Linked DNA regions of Homo sapiens: regions 1 and 2 are each linked to region 3. The links are contacts of gene promoters, found by promoter capture Hi-C in blood cells and fetal thymus (Javierre and others, 2016). All regions are on one chromosome and are shown on one strand. The core of a region is centred on a gene start or on the middle of the fragment in contact, and the rest is flanking DNA. Distances in the headings are between cores, read along the strand shown. Region 1 has its middle 170 kb from the start of ADRA2C. Region 2 has its middle 100 kb from the start of ADRA2C. Region 3 holds the start of LINC00955 (long intergenic non-protein coding RNA 955).

Region 1 (4,124 bases), core at 933-3,432, 360 kb before region 3:
AGCTTCTGGCCACTGGGAGGCGCTGCTTGAAAGGGTTTGCCCTGAGACTCCAAGAAGAAGCTGCGGGAAGGACAGCAGGGGCCCTGGGGTTTTAGCCTCTGGCCCAGGAGTTATGTGTCCATAACCAAAGGGAGCACAGTCTGCACCCAGCTCTCATCCCATCGGAGCTGCTGCGACTCCCGCAGGTTCTTCCGGAACAGGTTTAGCTTGCCTGCAGGATCAGGAAAGTTTGAGAAAAGCATCTGCATAATACTAAAGAGCAGAGCTTACCTCATTGCCTGTCCCCACCGCATCCCAGGTCACCACCTGGCTGACCCCAGGTGCCCGACCCAACAACAACCCCTACCAAGTTCTTAACTCCCTCACTTGGACTCGAGACTCTTCACGCCCCAGCAGCGCTCCGCCTCCAACTTGACATCACGCTTTCTGGGAACTTCCCCGCATGTCCCACTTTCCCACACTTGGTGTCCTGGGGCACCTCCCGGCCTCTTCATGCTGTATGCTCCCCTGCGAGCACCCTCCTCTTGGCCTCTGGCCAAGTCCCACCCATCTGTGGGTAACAAGGGGGTGTCGGTGTTCTTTTCAGCCTTGCTAAACTGTCTGAATCAAGGATCACAAACTACAGCCTGCAGGCCAAATCCAGCCCACAGCCTGTGTTTGTAAATAAAGATTTATTGGAACAAAGCCACACCCCTTAATCTACAGATGATCTGTGGCTACTTTCACACCCCAACAGAGTACCATGGTTCTGACAGAGACTAGGGGACCCAGTCTAAATGACTTCCGACTTGGACCTTTACTGAAAATCCTGCCAGTCATTCTGTTGGCAAGAACGATGTATTACTTTTTGCAATAAGAAACAAGTAACATTTGCAGAATTCCACCCATCTTTCAAGGCTGGTCCCAGAAGCTCCCTTTGCCCACTCACCTACCTGATCCTGCTCACTTCCTAAACTGCAGCCCGGCCCACCCGGCTCCAGCGTCATTTGTGGAGTGTCTGTTCCATAAATCCAGCGGGCAGGCGGGCAGGTGGGGTTGTGTCCTAACTTTCCCGAGCCTACTGTACCGAAACGGGACAGCAGAGTAGGCCAGCCTCTGTGACCTCTGCTCCCTCCCTAGCTTTTCCGCCAGACCCCACATGGTCCCACCCCGACTGTGGGAAGCAGGGATCAGGGAGCGTGGCTCGGTGCCAGTCTCCAGAACCCTGCCCACCCTGGCTTAGTGGCAGATGTGGCTACCTGCAGCTGAGCTGCCAGTTCCTCTGAGTCCTCAAAGACCAAGCCGTTTTCTTGATGTTTCACCAGCTCATGTAAACTGCAGAGAGAACCAAGGGAGCCTGAGAGCTGCCTGGAGAAGACACCAGACCCCTGGGGTGCCCACCTGGGCTCCCCTCGCACCCCACGCTCAAGCCAGGCTGGGGATTGGAACAGGGGGTGTGGTTTCTGGGAGCTGGTTCTTAGATTTGGCATCTGAAGGGTATAAAGGCCTGGGGGAGTGCACATCAAAATGGCCAAACCGATTTGAGGAGGGAGCCTTAAGGAGGGTTTGTACCTTCTGTGCTGGATGCTCTTCAAGGACTGAAGAATTATTTTTGTATGTTTTTCTTAATTCCATGGCTGTGGAACAAGTAAGGCAACCCCCTGGAGACTGGTTCAGCACATAAAAGATGACTTTTCTAGGGCACCAGATTTGATCAAGACGTTCCCTGAGCTCAGCTCACACGAGGGGCTTGAATCCCTGAATCCCATCCAGGAGCCGGCTCCTGAGCAGGGGCCAAGGGCTCAACTTGTGCTGGGGCTACTGCTTCTAGAATCTCCTCTAACGCCACCCTTCCAAACACCCATCTATGCTGGGTGCAGTGAGGCCACAGCATGACACTCATTTAACTCATTCAAACCCACCATGTGAGCTTGGCCAAAAGGGACATGGTGGGAGAGAAAAACAAAGAAAACCATGTAAGCCTGCAGGCAATTCCCGCCAATTCTACTCTAGGAGCAAAAGCCCCGAGTGGAGTTCTAGTATTTAAGGTGCTTTCTTTTTTCATATTAGGTTGGTGCAAAAGTTATTGCCATTTTTAATGGCAAAAACCGTGATTACTTTTGTACCAACCTAAATATAACATGAGTTCTAAATGGAAGCAACTACTTCAGTGAGGCTCAGCCCAGCCACAGTAACCACAGGGCTCCTCCTCATGGCCTCCAGTGTGTGCTGGACTGACCAAGGGGCAGGGCCTCACTGTGGGCAGCTGGCTCTGCACTGTTTCCCCCTCAGCGGTGGATCTGTGAAGCTATCCCCAGAAAGATTCGGGTTCTGCTCCTACCACTTGAAGTTCACAACGCACACACAGGCAAACAGCTCCTGAACATGTCCACCACCTTCATGGGCAGGTCCAGGCCACTGGAGGACGTGTCTAGACAGACACCCAGGTCCACCGACCCTGCTAGGCAAGAGGGGTGCGGTCAGAGAGCTGGTCTCTGCCCTGGGAACACAAATCCTCCCAGCACAGTGAGGCAGCATCCCCCGAGGGGAGTGAAAATCAGATAAGGCCCCCCGCAGCCCCAAGCACAAGTGGCTTAAGCTGGCCAAGCAGCCACATGGTCTGGCTGGGACATCTGAAAATGTAAGTTGACACTTTTTCTACGTAATCACAATTTGGTTTTTTTGTTGTTGTTGTTTTGTTTTGAGACAGAGTCTCACTCTGTCACCCAGGCTGGAGTGCAGTGGCACAATCTCAGCTCACTGCAACCTCCACCTCCCAGGTTCACCTCCCGCATGTAATCCCAGCATTTTGGGAGGCCAAGGTGGGCGGATCACCTGAGGTCAGGAGTTCAAGACCAGCCTGGCCAACGTGGTGAAACCCCATCTCTACTAAAAGAAACACAAAATTAGCGAAGTGTCGTGGCAGGTGCCTGTAATCCCAGCTACTCAGGAGGCTGAGGCAGGAGAATTGCTTGAACCTGGGAAGGCAGAGGTTGCAGTGAGCCAAGATCGTGCCATTACACTGCAGCCTGGGCTACAAGAGCGAAACTCCTTCTCAAAATAATAATAATAATAATAATAATAATAATAATAATAATAAACCACAGCACACCCACTACAAACCAGCTGTCAGTGTGAAAATAAAGCGAAACGGCTTAACATTTCTAAAGACTAGCTGGGACCAGGCGTGATGGGTCACGCCTGGAATCCCAGCACTTAGGGAGGCCAAGACAGGAGGATCACTTGAGGTCAGGAGTTCAAGACCAGTCTGGCCAACATGGTGAATCCCTGTTTCTACTAAAAATACAAAAATAAGCCAGGTGTTGTGGAGGGCTCCTGTAATCCCATAATCTACTCGGGAGGCTGAGGTGGGAGAATCGCTTGAACCCAGGAGGCGGAGGTTGCATGAGCTGAGATCGTGCACTCCAGCCTAGGCAACAGAGCGAGACTGTCTAAAACAAAGACTAGCTGGAGAGTCCTGCCAGGAAAAGGCCTCAGCCTCCAACTGCTCTGCTCACTAGAAGCTGGAAGATGCGGCTCTAGAGACGCATCAGGACCAAGACACAACTCCCCACTTGGAGAAAACAACGGGGAAAGAGACGGAGGCAAAGCAGAACCATCTCACTGGGAGAGGCGACGCTGTTTGACACATCGTCCCTGTACCTCCCAAAGCCACTGCCTTCCTACACCTGGGCAACAGTGGCCCCAACCCCAGGCCCAGCCCTCCTGCAGGAAGGAAGAGGACTGAATGGAGGGCGTGGCAGGCTGAAAGGATGTGACCTCCTCAAACCCCTTGGTAAAGGGCCTCTGGGGCCACCTGGCTGGGAGGGGCTGGCACACCAGAAAGTAGCCTCCTCCCGGGAGTTCAGCCAGAGCCCAGGTCCCGTGCCCAAGTGGCCTCCAGAGCCACCTTTTCAGAAAAAGTACATCCTGCCCACCCCTGTTCCCCCTGCTTAAGGCCCTGCCTCCTCCCTGAGCCTCCCGCTGGCCTCTCACCTAGAAGCGGGGGTAGTCCTCGGCCCTCCAGCCAGGGGGTGCAGACCTGGATGTGCTGGAAATGCTACTGGTGGATGAGGCGGCTGTAATACTCCCTCAGAGGCCCTTTGCCTTCACAGAGAAGAGGAGACACTGCCATGGACCCGTCT
Region 2 (4,382 bases), core at 1,066-3,565, 290 kb before region 3:
TTGGGGCCTGGAGTTGTGGCGAGGACTAGGTGAGGAGAGTTCATGGACAGCAGAGCCCCTGCACGTGAGCTTTCCACGTGATGTGGGGACCAAAGGTGGGGTGGGGACCATGGCTTCAGCTGTGCAGGTGCCGGTTGGCTCTCACCTGGGCTGAGTGGGGACCAAGGGGGATTGCTGTGGGTGGAATTGTGTCCCCCCAAAATACATGTTCAAGTCCTAACCAGCTGCAGCTGTGAATGTGACCGTATTTGGAAATAGGGTCTTTGCTGATGTCAGTAAGTTACGATGAAGTCATCCTGGATTTAAGGTGGCTTCATCCAATGGCTGATGTCCTTGTTAGAAGACACAGGCACCTGGGGAGAATGTGACAACTGAGGCAGGGATGGGAGCAATGTAGCCACAAGCCCAGGAACACCTGGGGCCCCAAGAGGGAGCCTCGCCAAGGCCTCCTGAGGGAGCACGGCCCACCGGCACCTTGGTCTGGCATTTCTGGCCTCCGGGATGGTGAGAGGATAAACTCTGTATCTGAGGTCACCGGCTTTATTGCGCTTTGTCGGCAGCTGTAGGAAATTAAAGGCAAGATGTCAGGTGGACCCACTAGGACCCAGCCACCACAGGGAGGCCATCTGAGAAGCTGCAGGTCTCTCCTGCTTAGTGGCTGCCTCTCCTCCCTCCCCACTGCCCTTGACACTGCTCTCTTCGACTCCCAAGGACACATTAACCCTCAGATCCCTATCTCCAGTCAGCTCTGGGGAGACACAAACCCAGACACGTCATTTGCTTGCACTGCGGGGCACTCAGAGATGGATGCCCATGTTTGGTCTGCTGCAGTGGGTCATCTGGGGAGTGGGGGTACGTGGTCATGGGGTCTGCATTCCTTGTTTCCAGAGAACCTCTATGATGTGGCATTCCCAAGTCACAGGCCCAGGCCAGGTCCTGCAGCAGGGGTGAAGTGCATGGGACCCTTGGGCCCTGCCTCTAGGGGGCTGCTGTCCCTCTGCTTGCCCCCGGTGTGAGCGCCTGCTTATGGTGAGAATGTGAACCCTTCGAGGTCCTCGGGAAGCGAATCTGGGGACCCCAAGAAGGAGGAGGTGGGCCGGGGCATTCCAGGTTCACATCTGGGGCTGGAGACTTTGGCCTGGCATGCACAGGTCTCAGCTGCCCAGGCCTGGGAAGAGCTGGCATGATGACACCCGCTGGCATGGCCTCGGTGCGCGAGCCTGGCACACAGTGGATGCTTGAAGACTGTCTGCGAATGCTCCAATGACCTTATCAGGAGGCACATCTGGTGGTTAGGCCGCTGTCCTTGGTACTGCTAGGGCTGAGTCCCTGAGGGTAGCAGCTATCTCTAGGACTGAGACTGACCCGTATTCCTTGGTGATATCCAGGAGCAGTGCTGGCAGCTGCATGGTTGGGCCTCCAAACCTCAGGTTGCAATTTGATCCCAGAGTGTTGGAGGTGGGGCCTAATGGAAGGTGTTTTCCTCATGGAGTGGATCCCTGTGAGTAGATTCATGCCCTGGGGCGGGGGTTGGGGAGTGAATTCTACTGTCTGAGTTTCCGACAAAGCAGCTACTGAAAATAGCCCGCACCCACCTCCTTCTCTGACTTCCTCTCCCGCCCTGTGAGCTCCACACACGCAGCCCCTCCCCCTCCACCGTGAGTGGAAGCTTCCTGAGGCCTCCCCAGAAGCCAAGCAGATGCCAGGGCCGTGCTTCCCAGGCAGCGTGCAGAACCGTGAGCAAGTAAGCTTCTGTTCTTTATAAATCACCCAGCCTCGGGTATCCTTTGTAGCGACACAAGTGGACTGAGATAGGCAGCTGTCGTTCAGCAGCATTTACTTTGTGAAGGCACTGGAAGCCTTTCCACTTTAGCACAGAAGACTTCCCAGGGGCCACAGCAGGTGCACACTTGTGCAGCCGACAGCGGAAAGGCAGAGATGAGTTGGCCAGTCACTGGGTGTCTTCCCCATGATGCTGGGGGCCCCTGGAAGGCAGGGCCAGCGCCTTGTCATCTCTGTACCCAGTGCCTTTTCTAGAGGAAAGGGACAATATTAGAGATTCGATGTTTTCCAAGGCAGAAAGTTCCCGAACGTATTGCAGGAGGCTTGGACTCTGCTCCTTAACAGCCAGTGTGTCTGCAGCAGCAGCTGCCCACAGTGGGGGACATGTCCCAGCCAAGGGCTGCAGAGTCCTCACAGCAGTGCCTCCTCGCCTCCAAGGCCTGGCTGGCAGGTCAGCCCGAAGAGGCTTCCAGACTTCCCCGGGCAGGATGGGCGGCACCGCCTGTGTCCCTGCCCCTCTCACCTGCTACCTTGCATCCTGGTGCTATGGCCATCACCACAGACAGGCTTACTCCCCGAGGACAAGGGCCACAGCACAGCCCTCTCCCTCACTGATTCATCCACACGTTTGTGGAGGCTGGCTCTGAAGGCCCTGGACTGCTCACCTCCACAGGGACCAAGTCTCCCTCCCACCCTGAGACCAGCCCAGGAGGCCCTGAGGCCTTCAGCCAGTATACTGGGTGGATAATGTCCCCCTCATTTCATGTCTCTCCTGGAACCCCAGAATTTGCCCTTCTCCGGAAACAGGGAACTGCAGGTGTAATTGGTTCAGTTAAATGAGGCCCTGTTTGAGTAGGGTGGGCCCTGAACCCACATGACTGGTGTCCTTAGAAGGGGGGAAGAGGCATGGACAGGCAGGGAGTGTGCGGGGCCAGTGGGGGCAGAGACCAGAGTCCTGCTGTAGCCTGCAGAGGCTGGAAGAGGCAGGAAGGAGCCTCCCTGGGGACTGCAGAGCCACCACAGTCCTGCTGGCACCTGGATCTCGGGCTTCTGGCCTCCACAACTTGGGGAGAAGCAGTGTCTGTTGTTTGAAGCTTCAGTTTGTGGGACTTGGTTTTGGCGGCCCCAGGACACGAATCTGGCCGGCATCCGTTGGAATGAGTCTATCTGAGCAGACAGAGCGGCCCCAGCCTTGCTGGCCTCCCGTTCCCGCAGCCCATTCTGTGTTCTGCCTCCCCACTCTCCTGCCGTTTTTCTTCCCATCCCTGCTGTCCCTCACATGGGGGCCACCACGCTGGACCACTGCCTTACCCTCCTGTGTCCACGTCCGTGGTGATGGAGGTGGCTTAGCAGTGAGTCCCCATCTCAGGGAATTCAAGCCAGGCTGGAAGGGGGATGACTGAAGGTCCTTTGCAGCCTGCCAGGAAGGCTCTGAGAAGTCAGGCCCAGCCCTGGGCTCCCCATGGAGCTGCCCACTCCCCTCGGGGCTACCCTCCTCCTCACCGGGGAAGATGAGGCCTTGATCCCAGAGCTCCGGGGGCCCATCTGGACTCCACAGTGGGCATAATTATCACCTGAGTTGTAATATTCTAGCCAGGATTCAGCCTTCCCCTTGCCTGTCCAGCTCACCAGCCCCGCCTTCAACCCCTACTGGGCCTGCGTCACCCCCACCTCTGGGTCAGCCCAAGATGCTCCTGGCCCTCCTGACAAAATCTCCATCTCTCAGCCTGGCATAGCTCTTGCCTGCCTGGGTGGCTGTGACTTCCATTTGGGCTGCAGGCATCACGCTGCTTTCTCCACCTGAGGCACACCTGCCACCCTTGTCCACCCAGATCACACCTCCCACCCTCGTCCACCCAGCTCACCCCTCCCACCTGCGACCACCCGGATCACACCTGCCACCCGTGTCCACCCGGACCACACCTCCCACCTTCGTCCACCCGGGTCACCCGTCCCACCCGTGACCACCCAGATTACACCCCTCCCACCAGCGTCCACCCAGATTGCCCCTCCTGCCCACGTCTACCCGGGTCACCTCTCCCACCCGTGTCCATCTGTCCCACCCGTGTCCACCTGTCCCACCCGTGTCCACCTGTCCCACCCGTGTCACCTCTCCCACCTGTGTCCACCTGTCCCACCCGTGTCACCTCTCCCACCCATGTCCACCTGTCCAGCTTTCACAACTTTCTTTCAGCTTGGGAGCTGTAATGTGTAGAAAACCTTCCTGTCCAAATGAGCTCTGACTGGCCCTTAACACAGTGGCCTGCAGCTTGGGGAAACAACTCCAGGTGGCTATGCTGGTGGGTGCTGGGCATCGGAGTGGCACGGGCAGCCTGTCTGGTTGGGGATAAGACAAGCATAAGGGCAGGATGGGCCTCAGGAGAGGGATTTGAAGGACAGGCAGGCTACCTCCTCTGGAGCATGATGCTTATTCTGTGTTGCCTGGACTGGATGCAGAGGACAGTACCCTGGGTGGGACGCCTGGACCTGCCACCCAGCTGTCACAGCCACAGCCACAGCTCCAGTCATCACAGCCACAGCTCCAGCCGTGTTCCCCCAGGGAAGGGCAGGCGAAGTTGCTCCCTCCTTTCTCCTGTGGG
Region 3 (4,238 bases), core at 1,600-4,099:
TAATTCAGTGTATATTTCAAATGTTAATTAAAAGGCCAAACTGTCCCTTCTAATAACCCCAAATCTCTTAAACATCACAAATGCTTATAATACCAAACACGCCCAGATTCCTTCACTCAAAACTATGAATACTGGAAGTTGATACCATAAAACATTTCTGTACCTAATTCTAAATATTCCCTTGGGTTTAAACATTTTTTTTTTTCACTGAGGAAACAACTAAGAGATTTGAGCAGCATTATCTAGGTAATTGGAGGTTAGAAAATACTAGCATTATCAGTCAGTGTACTGATGGTATTTTCATCTACCACACAGACGGGAGTTGCAGAAACCTATTTATGTATTGTTACAGGGACTCCAGATCTTAGAGTTTGGTTTTGAGCCCTCGACCCCATATAGAACTTGATCCTGTTCCTTTCATGCACATCTATAAACCCCACCCAGGGGGTTCAAATGGGTTTTGCATTTATCAGACTTCTCCATGATTGGCATAGTCTTCCTGGTGAGACCTGGAGTGTGGCTCCCAGACACCCAAACTTGGCTGGAGTCCTGAAGCAGGCGCAGCTAATCTGGCTGATCTACTCCTTCACACTCGTGGAGCAGATGGGGAAACAGACCAGAGGGGCAGCCCAGGAAGCAAATTTGGATGATCCAAATCTCAAAGCTGAGTTGGAATCTGTGGACAAAGCTTCTAAAGTCATACGAGTGATGTGTGGTGTTTGGATGGATGGATGGATGGATGGATGGATGGATGGATGGATGGATAGATGGGTGGATAGAGGATGGATGATGGGTCTTTGGGTAGATGGGTAGATGGGTGGATGGATAGGTGGGTGGACCACAGTCTGATGGGTAGATGGGTTGATAGGTGGTTGTTTGAGTAGGTGGATAGAATGGATGGATAGAAGTTTTATGAGGGTATGGGTGAATGGGGAGTAGTGGATAAGTAGGTGAAGCAGTCAATGGGTAAGTGAGTGAATGTGTAGGAGGATCATGCATGAATGGGTGAGTGGATGTCATGGGTATATGGGTATAGGAGAGGTAGATAAGTATGTGTACAGATGGGCAAAGGGAAGGATGTGGGCGTGTTATGGGGTGGTTGGGTAGGTTGACGGATGGATGGGTGGATAAGTATTGTGTTACATGGGAGAAAACAAGTTTAGTTAGGTTGATGGGTGAATGGATGAGTGAGTAGTTGGATATAGACATGGAAGCTGGCTAGCTGGGTGGATGGATGATGGGTGAGTGAATGGATGGGTGGGTGATGAAAGAAAGGGAGGACGGATGGGTGGATGGATGGATGAGTGAGTGAATGAATGGATAGGTGGGTGAATGGAATAGGTGGATGGATGGATGGACGGATGGATGGATGGATGGATGGATGGATGGATGGATGGATGATGAAAGAAAGAAAGCATGAAAGGATGGGTGGGTGAATAGAATAGGTGGATGAATGGATGGATGGTTGGAAGGATGGATAGATAAGTGAATAATGAATGGGTGGACGAATATGTGGATGAATGGATGGATGGGTGGATAGATGGATGATGAAAGAAAGAAAGGGTGAATGGATGGGTGGATGGGAGAGTGAATAAATGAATGGGTGGATGAATGGGTAGATGGATGGATGGGTGGATGGATGAATGAATGAGTGAGAGGATGGGTGGGTGATGAAAGAAAGGAAGGATGAAAGGGTGGACGGGTAGGTGGATGAATGTATGATAGGATGGAAGCTGGCTGGATGTGGGGGTGGATGAGTTGAATGGACAGATGGGTAAGAGGGTGAGTAAGTGGGTGGATGGTGAAGGAATTAATAATGTTATTATTATAAACATTATTATTATTATATGAATAAGTTTCTGGTTTAGAAGACTAGTATCCTTCTGAGAGCTCTCTCAGAGTGTCAGGCTCTACAAATTTGCTTCCTTGGGCTGCCCCTCTCTGGGTTGTTTCCCCATTTGCTCCATGAGTGTGAAGGAGTAGATTGGCCAGATTAGCTGCGCCTGCTCCAGGGGCCCAGCCCAAGCCCAGGTGCCTGGGAGTCACACTCCAGGACACTCGACCCCTGCCCTCTGGGGCCAGGGTCAGCAGCCTCTGGCCAGACCCCTCTTCTTAAAACAAGCTCAGGTAGGGAGAGAACACTGCCCTGCTGGTGGTTGCCATGGAAAATCCTTCATTGCTTGTTTTTCTCCTCGACTGATTAAGAAAAGGGAGTCATAAAATGACAGGGCGTCACTGGGCCTTGCCGCTGGCCAGCTTTGACTTATCCCCTGACATTTCCCAGGAGCCAGCTAACCTTTTCTGCCACAAATAGACTGAAGCGGGTCCCTTGAGGCAGTCTAGCCTGAACAGAGTCCATCTCAGGGGAGGTCAGGACCCGGGATACAGCAACAGGAGCCGGGTCATTCAAATAACCAGGAAGGAGAGCAGACAGTGCTGGGACCGAGAGCACAGCGAGGACCCTAAGGAAGCCACCAAAAAACAGCCTTCGCAACAGTCAGGACTGCTGTCAGGACCACCAGGCAGAGCCCAGGGAGCAAACACCTGCTCTCCCTCCCTGGGGTCCCCGCTGTGTTCCCAGGCATGACACTCACCTCCCAGAGCAGCAGCCTGGCCTCTGCTCCTCTCCGGGCAGAAACGACACAGGGATGCTCCCCAGTCAGTGTGCTGGGGTCCTAGGGGCGTTGGCGACGCCGGGGCAGGTTCCACCATAGATCCTGCTGCCTCAATCCAGAGGGCTTTCGGAAGGCGCCCCTGCTATGGCATCGCAGAGGGAGGAGACCCGGGATGTGGCCCAGCAGGGCTGTGTATACACCAAGATGCCTCCGTCTGCCCTTCCAGCTGTAAATCAAGACTCAGCCGTGGAGAGGGAGGATAAAGTCCACAGGGGCTGAACCTCCTCCCCAGCCCTGGTCTCAGCCTCAGGATAGAAGACTTTAACCCCAGAAGGCCCTCAGGAGGCCAGGCAAGCCAACACCCTCGAACCTGTGCCACGATGGGGGGCGATGGGGCGAGGACAGAGCCTGGAGTCACAGACCAGGAAACTGGGTTGCCTCAGCTCACCCAGGGTCCCAAGGCCAGGACAGGGCAGAGCCGAGACCAAAGTCCCTGCGAGGCCGCCCTCATGAAGGGACTCGGGAGGGTTCACTGGGTGAATGGATGAGCCTGTACAGTGAATGAAGGCCGAGCCCACGGCTGGGAGCTGCCATCCCCGGCTTCCTCTGAATACAGACAGCCTGATGCGCAGGTCTCAGATCTGGAAGGGGGCCTGGGCCCCTTGACCCCATCTCTTCATTTACTGCTGGGGAAACCGAGGGCCAGCCTGCCACAGTAATGCCGTGGGTGCCTGAGTCATCTCCTCCTCCTCCTCTTCCTTCTCCTCCTCCTCCTCTTCCTCCCCCTTCCTCATCTCCCCCTTTCCTCCTTCTCTTCCTCTTCCTCCCTTCCTCCCACCCGTCTCCCTCTCCTGAGCCCCAGCTCTGCTCTGCCACCAGGCCTTGTCCCTTTTAGGGTCCAAAAGAGCAGGTCCTGCCCTGGGGCCAGTCAGCATGAAAAGGGATGACCATCTCTTCCTCCAGAGGACAGGGACTCTATGCCCCAGGCACTCCAAGGTCAAACCTGGCTCCCACTCAGACTATGAAGACAGCATCCACTGGGTCAGAGTCATGAAGCCACGGGTCCCAGGGGACAGCTCAGGTGGCCACAGGGCCAGACTGGCAGGCTGCCCTCTGCCTCCTGTTAGCACAAACACCCCTCCCCTCAGGCCTGAACTCTGACATGAGCCAGTGGGCACCGGGCCCTGTCAGGAACAGGAGGAGGCCACAGCCATCCTCAGGAGAGAACAAAGGACACACAGGCCTCCGGGGAGAGCAGTGGGTGGCAGTGACAGGAGGGGCTACTCAGAATTCATGAGCGAGGGCCAGGCAGCTTGGCCACCTTGGAGGAGCCGCTGCACCTATCCAAGCCCAGGTTTCCCTGCTGAAGGCAGCACCGGTGTCTCCTCCTGGGGGTGTTGAGAGGGTCATCCCAGGCCAGGGAGGTCGAAGGGCTCTGTGAGCTGTGAAGCGCTGGGCACCTGTGGGGCGGGGGCGTTCATCCTGCGGTCAGTCTGCCCTGGAGGGCGGAACACCTACGCACTGTTCCAGCGGGAGGGGTATGGCGTCCAGTGAGGCCCAGCTCCCCGAGCCTTTCCTGATGGCACTGGAAGACAGGCAGCATCCCAGAAACATATAAAAGGC

The links. Contacts are between HindIII fragments. The CHiCAGO score rates a contact against its expected background, and 5 or more counts as called.
Region 1: a contact is called between a fragment that was not itself captured here and the fragment with the promoter of LINC00955 in region 3, in 1 of 17 cell types (M0 macrophages). The highest score is 5.2, in M0 macrophages.
Region 2: a fragment that was not itself captured here is called in contact with the fragment with the promoter of LINC00955 in region 3 in 3 of 17 cell types (endothelial precursors, M2 macrophages and M0 macrophages); the score reaches 5.9 in endothelial precursors.

What each region holds. Positions count from the first base shown.
Region 1 is chr4:3,938,508-3,942,631 of GRCh38, reverse strand. It overlaps the pseudogene ALG1L7P and the pseudogene FAM86EP. Among named protein-coding and RNA genes, the nearest start is that of ADRA2C, 170 kb to the right of the region's middle. The HindIII fragment of the contact is 5,781 bases long and covers 1-4,124 here.
Region 2 is chr4:3,865,479-3,869,860 of GRCh38, reverse strand. No RefSeq gene overlaps it. Among named protein-coding and RNA genes, the nearest start is that of ADRA2C, 100 kb to the right of the region's middle. RefSeq lists enhancers at 1,100-1,613, 4,095-4,382. The HindIII fragment of the contact is 1,127 bases long and covers 1,752-2,878 here.
Region 3 is chr4:3,575,480-3,579,717 of GRCh38, reverse strand. It overlaps LINC00955 (long intergenic non-protein coding RNA 955), which reads right to left and starts at 2,849. Exons shown (of 3, transcript NR_040045.1): 1 at 2,595-2,849. The HindIII fragment of the contact is 6,504 bases long and covers 691-4,238 here.